Linked DNA regions of Homo sapiens: all the other regions are linked to region 1. The links are contacts of gene promoters, found by promoter capture Hi-C in blood cells and fetal thymus (Javierre and others, 2016). All regions are on one chromosome and are shown on one strand. Each heading gives the region's core, a stretch centred on a gene start or on the middle of the fragment in contact. The rest is flanking DNA. Distances are from core to core; before and after follow the strand shown. Region 1 holds the start of FAM177B (family with sequence similarity 177 member B). Region 2 overlaps EPRS1 (glutamyl-prolyl-tRNA synthetase 1). Region 3 overlaps RAB3GAP2 (RAB3 GTPase activating non-catalytic protein subunit 2).

The links. Contacts are between HindIII fragments. The CHiCAGO score rates a contact against its expected background, and 5 or more counts as called.
Region 2: a contact is called between a fragment that was not itself captured here and the fragment with the promoter of FAM177B in region 1, in 1 of 17 cell types (monocytes). The highest score is 6.1, in monocytes.
Region 3: a fragment that was not itself captured here is called in contact with the fragment with the promoter of FAM177B in region 1 in 1 of 17 cell types (neutrophils); the score reaches 5.4 in neutrophils.

Annotation. Positions count from the first base shown.
Region 1 is chr1:222,735,915-222,738,502 of GRCh38, reverse strand. It overlaps FAM177B (family with sequence similarity 177 member B), which reads right to left and starts at 1,301. Exons shown (of 6, transcript NM_001394345.1): 1 at 1,181-1,301; 2 at 482-599. RefSeq lists an enhancer at 1,518-2,059. The HindIII fragment of the contact is 3,071 bases long and covers 1-2,349 here.
Region 2 is chr1:219,984,181-219,986,768 of GRCh38, reverse strand. It overlaps EPRS1 (glutamyl-prolyl-tRNA synthetase 1), which reads left to right. Exons shown (of 32, transcript NM_004446.3): 21 at 2,512-2,563. Among named protein-coding and RNA genes, the nearest start is that of SLC30A10, 57 kb to the right of the region's middle. The HindIII fragment of the contact is 4,066 bases long and covers 1-2,588 here.
Region 3 is chr1:220,188,016-220,190,603 of GRCh38, reverse strand. It overlaps RAB3GAP2 (RAB3 GTPase activating non-catalytic protein subunit 2), which reads left to right. Exons shown (of 35, transcript NM_012414.4): 15 at 84-227; 16 at 458-540; 17 at 837-901. Among named protein-coding and RNA genes, the nearest start is that of MIR664A, 11 kb to the left of the region's middle. The HindIII fragment of the contact is 3,385 bases long and covers 1-2,588 here.

The DNA.
Region 1 (2,588 bases), core at 52-2,551:
AAGCGATCCTCCTGCCTCAGCCTCCCAAAGTGCTGGGATTACAGGCATGAGCCACTGCGCCCGGCTCAGTTTAATTCTTGGGAGCACCTCTACCTTTTGTTTCTTAAAAACCCCAAATACAGACTATGAAGGATAGTTCCTAAGTATATAATGTAATTAACAGGCCATATAATCTCTCTGACCTTTTAAATATTGTATTACCCCAGGGCTCAGTGATTGGACCTCTTCTCTTTCCTATCTGCTTTCTTGATGATCTCCTTTGGCCCTGTGGCTTTCAATACTATCCACACACAGATGATTGTAACATTTATATTCTCCAGGTCAGACTTTTTCCCTGAGTCTCACAGATCCAACTACCTGCTTGACATCTCTTCTTAGTTGTCTAATGGACATCTCAATCCTAATTTGTCTAAATCTTTGCTCATGCTTTCAGTGCAACTCTCCCTCCATCCCCCCAACACACACATACTCACACATTTACCTCTACTCTTCTGGCAGCCTTCTCATCTCAATAAATGGCAACTCTGTTCTTCCAGTTGCTCAGGCCAACAACACTAAAGTCATTCTTGGTTCTTCTTTAATCACACCTCACATCAAATCTGCCAGGAAATTGTCTTGGATATTTCTGGAATCATACTTTTCATTACTCCACTGCTACCACCCTGGTCTATCATCTCTCACCCTTGCCGTCGTCTCTCACCTAGATTATTGCAGCAGCCTCCTAATTGGCCCCCTCCAGTCTACGCTCGAAAAGGAGCCAGAATTGTTAAATCCTAAGTGAGACCATGTCATGTCTTTGCTTAAAACTCTCCAGTGGGTTCCCGTCTCACCTAGAGTAAAAGCCAAACTCCTCATAATGGCCTACAAGGCTGTATACCTAACCCCTACGAGCTTTCTGACGCCATCTTGTACTACTCTCCCACCACTGACATCACTCTAACCCCACGGGCCTTCTTCCTGCAATTCCCTGACCACACAGGTCCGCCCTCTCTCTCTGCAGAGAGCTCTCTGCTGGCTGCTCTATTAGTCTTTCTTTCCTTAGACTGTTTCCTTGCTCATTTCCAGTCTTTAACTCAAATGGAGACTACACTGAGCTCCGCTTTCAAGGCAACCTCCCATTGCCTTCACCACCACCCTCTGCATCTTACCTCCTGTTTCATTTTTTCTCCTTAGCACTTACCAACACTGAACACTCCATATTCCACCTGTCTCTGTCTTCCCTTTCCTCCCTGTCCTGCCCCTTGGCAGAGGGGGAGGGTTTTACCTGTTATGTTCACTGCTGTATCTTCTGCCCCTATGATGCCTTACACGTAGCTGGAACTCAGTATTTGTTTAACAAATGAATCATACATTTAGTTAAGGTTAATGGGTGGGAGGAGTTATATAACAGATTGGAAAAATAAGAACAGACTTGTAACTGTCTTTATTTCCTGCTTTAGAAATTACTATCTTCATTTAATATTTTTCTGATTACATCTATCTACTAATCATTTCAATTAGCTCCTTCACTGAAACACAGCATTGTAATCTGTACCAAGAAAATAACACACTAGTTCTACATCTTGGCATTTAACTTCAATAAGTAAATATACTATTTTAAGTATGTAACACTTAAACATTTTCTAGAGCTCTTTCCATTTTCATTTATCTAGAAAATGTTTTCAAATGGACTGTTAAAATTCAGCTAAGAACTGATGTTGGGTCATTACGCTGGAGCTAATTAGCATTGCTTGCCTGGAGCTGCTGGTCCCCCTTCCTGCTTCCACCTTTCCTTTTTTCTGAGGTGGTTGAAAGGTCAAACCCCTGGTGAGAGGAGAGAACCAAAGCCCCACTGCGTGCCTCAGATGCAGAGTTTCACAGCGTGGTATTCACTGGGTATTCACCGACATTTCTCTAGGCCCCTTCACCTGAAGGAACTGGCCTGCTCCAATCAGTGACTTGCAGTGTGTGTGTCAGGGGCAAGGATAGAGTGAGGAAAAATGTGAAATAACAAATCACTGCCGCTCCTTGAGAATTACAGGAGCATCACCTGGCAGGATTTTTGTATCCTTATTTTCAGTATTAAACCACATACATGCACCCCACTGCCTGCATGCCTGTCCATGCCTGTCCCACTGTGGTGTTTCACAGCATTTTTTACATCATGGCAGATAGAGAAAATTAGTTGTTTGGAATTCTGGAGGCGACCAGCCTGGGAGCTCCAGCCACCTTAAGTGCTGCCCAGCTAGACACCCAGAAGGCTTCGATCAATAGCTTGAGACAAACTACTTGAGAAGCTCTGCATTAGAGAAGCAAATTCAAGTCTTGACATTTTCTCAGGGGAGTGCTCTGAAAGTGACTATATAAGCTTCTACCGACCTCAAGCAAATCACAGGCATTAGATACATTAAATTGCTGAAGTGATAGCTCTGGCTTTTTGGATATGCACAATCAAATATAGTTTTCTGTTTTATAATTTGTCAACTCCCCTTCCAGATTAACTATTTTGATCCCTTTATTACTATAACATTCTTAAATATTTAAATTTTAAGCAAATTATTCAAATGTCAAATAAAATCTTTAGATACAAACTTATGGTAACCCAAAGT
Region 2 (2,588 bases), core at 62-2,561, 2.8 Mb after region 1:
CTCCTTTTTAAACATGATTGGTAGCCTAATTATACACATTGTTTTGCACCTTAAGCAGATTTTTTTCAGATGAAGATCTTTTGTGGGGACTAAGTGAGAGCTTCATTCTCAATTTAAAAATTGATAGTTTAAATATAAGACAAAACTGACTAAAGACAAAATGGTTGGATAGAGGGCTCTTTAAGGATCTTCCAATCTGTATAAATAATGTACGGTCATACACCACATAATGATGTGTCAGTCAACAGTGGACTACATATATGACATTGGTCCATAAGATTATAATGGAGCATGTATGGAAACCTGATATATGGCACTTGATATTGGCATCGCAGATCAAGTGGGGGAAATTATTGATATTCAGTAATGTTGCTGGGATATTTGGTTTTCCATATAAAAATATATGTATATCATCTAGGTTTGTGTAAGTACAAGCTATGATGTTTGCACAATGATGAAATCACCTAACAGCGTATTTCTGAAAATGTATTCATGTCATTAAGTGACGCATAATTGTAATTTTTTATCTGTTTCCACAATTACAGTGAACTTTGTGATGGGTTTCCCTTAATGGCTTACTTAATAAGAAGAAAAAGCTGTTACTGAGATACTTTGGTTTTACATTTGTTTAGCTGAGTATCAAATTTTGCTGCCTCTTAGCTCTCATGTCATATACACAATGTCTCTTTAAACAAGAGAATGCAACAGTTATTTTTCCTTTTGACTATTAAACTGAATAACCAGAGTTATAGCAGGGTAGAAGAGAATGTAGAACTTCTCACCTTTTACTTTCTTAGTGCCTGTGAAAGTGCTAGGTTTCACAGAGTTATTTTGTTGAGGTATGTCATAGTGAAACAATGGAGAATGCAAATGCAAATACATTAAAATTTTTAGCCAGTAAAACCTTGTTTTTAAACTCCAAAAAGAGACCATCTCTATCCTGAATAATTGTTGATATTTCAAGAAAATGATTATTGTCTGAAATAGTTTTTTTATTGGAGACCTAGTTTATTTTACAAGCATCTATCTCTGCAACTTTTATTCTAGTTAAAAGAAAAACTTGAGGCCAGGCGTGGTGGTTCACACCTGTAATGCCAGCACTTTGGGAGGCTGGGATGGGTGGATCGCTTGAGGTCAGGAGTTTGAGACCAGCCTGGCCAACATGTCAAAGCTCCGCCTCTACTAAAAATACAAAAAAATTAACCAGGAATGGTGGCACACACCTGTAATCCCAGCTACTTGGGTGGGGGAGGGGGGCTGAGGCACGAGAATCGCTTAAACCTGGGAGGTGGAGGTTGCAGTGAGTCTAGATTGCACCAGTGCACTCCAGCCTGGGCGATGGGGTGAGACTGTTTCAAAAAAAGAAAAAGAAAAACTTACATAAATTTGGCTAATATGCACACATCAGTACACACACATATGTGTGTGTATTTATAGCCATTGTTTTTATTACTTTTTAGGTGTTACTTTCAGTGAAACAGTGATCTTACTATAATTTTAACTGGCATAAGATTCTTCTTTTTTAGTGGGAGAATAGGTGTGAACAGGCTGTGTCTCTATTACAAATACATTGCCTTAAAAAGAACCTTGTAAAAGAGATGTCTGCATAGAATCATAGCTTTTGTTACATTTGGCTTTCCTAGATTTTGTGGACAATATCTCTCAACTTTTTAAGAGATGTCTCTGCTGTTTTTGTTTCTTTCTTTTTTTTTTTTTTTTCTTTTGAGACGGAGTTTCACTTTTGTTGCCCAGGCTGGAGTGCAATGGCGCAATCTCGGCTCACTGCAGCCTTTACCTCCCAGGTTCAAGCGATTCATTCTCCTGCCTCAGCCTCCCGAGTAGCTGGGATTACAAGCATGCGCCACCACGCCTGGCTCATTTTGTTTTTAGTAGAGACAGGGTTTCTCCATGTTGGTCAGGCTGGTCTCAAACTCCTGACCTCAGGTGATCTGCCTGCCTTGGCCTCCTAAAGTGGTGGGATTACAGGCGTGAGCCACTGTGCCCAGCATTTCTACTGTTTTTTTAGGTTAAAAACATTATCTTAGGGGCTAGGCATGGTGGCTCATGCCTGTAATCCCAGCACTCTGGGAGGCCAGAACAGGAGGATTGCATGAGGCCAGGAGTTCAAGACTGGCCTGGGCAACATAGCGAGACCCTGCCTCTACCAAAAAATAAAAATAAAAAAATAAGCCAGATGTTGTATGCACCTGTAGTCCTAGCTACTGGGGAGGCTGAGGTGAGAGAATCTCTTGAGCTGAGGAGTCCGAGGTTGCAGTGAGACAGGATCACACCATTGCGCTCCAGCCTGGGTGACAGAGTAAGACCCTGTCTCAAAAACAAAACAAGAAAACAACAACGTTATCTTGGGAATGAATATAGAAGAGTTACAAATACAGAAATAACTCATACTGAAGAAAGACTAATCTATTTTGAACTTTAGAGGTTTATTTTTATTCAACCTAAAGCAGTTGCTGAATGAAGATATTTATCTTTTACTTTTCACATCTGCAGGTTGGGTCTTGAGGCAAAAAAAGAAGAAAATCTTGCTGATTGGTATTCTCAGGTGAGTATGCATTCAGTTGATTTTT
Region 3 (2,588 bases), core at 51-2,550, 2.5 Mb after region 1:
GGTTTCCTAGCTATAATAAAAGCACCTTTTGGCATTTCTCCTTGTTCTAATATTTTTACCATATTGGTATGTGATTTCTTTAGGCTGCTGTATCCTGGCTATAAAATAATGGGTTTAAATAATGTTACCAGTCAGAGTTGGCAGCCACAGACTTATCAGATCTGTCTGGTTGATCCAGTGTCTGGAAGTGTGAAAACAGTGAACGTTCCCTTCCATTTAGCACTGAGGTAAGGTGTGTCCAGTGTTGCTGATTGACGCTCCTCTGCTAACTTTTCCTAGTTCCTAGGTTTGTTGTACTCTCTTTTGTAGTTGCTATTTTGTTGTTTCCTTTGTCTTTAGACTGATATCTTTAAAGTTAAATAGGAAATATATAAAGGAAAAAAAAGTTGGAGTGTGTCAGAATTAGAAAGAAAATAATTTCACATTCTGTAATAATTTGTTATATTTATTGGTTTAGTGATAAGAAGAGTGAACGAGCCAAGGATATGCACCTAGTGAAGAAACTAGCAGCCTTACTGAAAACAAAATCTCCCAATCTTGGTAGGTATTCTCTCATACAAATAATAAAGCATATTGTTCTATCATCTTTTAAATCAATAAAATATTCTGAATGGAGCAATCAAAATAATGCATGGATGAGCTTATTGGAATTGCTCTGTAAGGCTGAAGTGTGCCATCTAGAGGGTGTTATAATTCATAACAAGAAAACATTAATGTGAGAGAACCCAAAAATCCTTTAGACTCACTGATAGTACAGATATGTTCATTTTCTTTCAGAATAATGTTTCACTGTTATAAAAATTAAAATTTTACTTTGATTATTTTTTTCTTTATAGATTTGGTTGAAACAGAAATAAAGGAATTAATTCTTGATATTAAATACCCTGCAACCAAAAAACAAGTAAGTGTATATAATACACGAACTTTCCTGCTAGTAGCTATAATACATCCTTCTTAAGAAAATCTTTATTTTCCTATTTCCCCCAAACATGAGAGGCTGAAGTCTTCTTTTCACATTTTTATTGTTTATCCCTTTCTTTATTTTCAGATAGAAGTTCCTGTTGTCTCTTTAAAAAAAAAAAAAAAAATTAATATTCATGCCTGTAACTGTAATCCTAGCACTTTGGGAGGCCGAGGCAGGGGGATCATGAGGTCAGTAGTTCGAGACCAGCCTGGCCAACATGGTGAAACCCCGTCTCTACTAAAAATACAAAAAAATTAGTTGGGTCAGTATTGGCGGGCGCCTGTAATCCCAGCTACTCAGGAGCTGAGGCAGGAGAATCATTTGAACCTGGGAGGCGGAGGTTGCAGTGAGCTGAGATTGCACCATTGTACTCCAGCCTGGGTTGCCATACATCTGAGTGTGTTTTATATACACATACCTACACATCCCTACATTATATATATTATATATATAAAATAGTAAATATGTGTGTATGACCACCTACCTTAGGAAATAAAATCTTACCAGGAACTCTAAAGAGCCCTGAGTGTCCCCCCTCAGTCCCATTCCCTTCTCCCATCCCTAAGGTAACTGTAATTTAGAATTTTGTGGTTCTTTCTTTTTCTTTACTTTATAGTTACGTCATTCCTGTGTGGCTCCTTTGAAACCTGTTGATGCATTTCCTGCCTTTTCAAACTTTATATAAATGCAGTCATGCCCTATGTCTTCTGTGACTTTAGTTTTTCCTTCAGGATTATGTTTCTGTGTCATTCATATTGGTGTATGTAGTTATAGTTATAATTGATTCATTTACTATGCCATACAAATTCTGCTCACTGACTAGAATTTATTTACACTCCTGTCAGTGAACGGTTAGGTTGTTTCCAGATTTTTGACATTACAAATGATGCTATGCTTATCCATGTACATATTTCCTCATTCACATATGCAAGAGTCTCTCTGGCGTTTATACCTAAGAGTGGAATTGCTAGGGTGTGAGCTTCTTCAACTGTACTAGTTGATGGCAAATTGTTTCCCAAAATAGTTGTACTAATTTATATTCCCACCTGTTCTGTATGAGTCCCTGTTACTCCACAGCCTCAATATTCCATGGTATTGCCAGACCTTTACTTTTTGCCAGGCTCGTGGTTATAATATGGTCACCACTGGTGATTTCTTTTACTCCCACTCCTCCTATCCAAACCCCTCATAATGCTATTCAAGTCCTAACTCCACAAATTCTTACATAATGCTTCGATCCCCATGGATAACTCTGAACTCCTACTCTACTTTCAATCAAAACTGGATAGTTAATGACTACTTATTTTCTAATTATTTCATGTATGTTAATCATAGCTTCCCCGACTTTTTTTTCTTTAGGTCTTTTAAGCTCCTTCAAGTAGGAACCTTACCAAATACTTGATTTTTATAATTCACAGCATCTAAAATAATGCTACTGTGAAAATGTAAGAAAAAACTGTATCACAGGTTTTTTCTTTTCTCTTACACAGTCACTCGACACTTCTGCCACTAGATGTAGGGTTTTTTTTTTTTTTCCCACACACCAGTCAATTTCTTTGGCAGATTCTCCAGCTAACACCAGCTGGTTATTCTCTAATTCAGTTCGATTCTGACACCATCTACC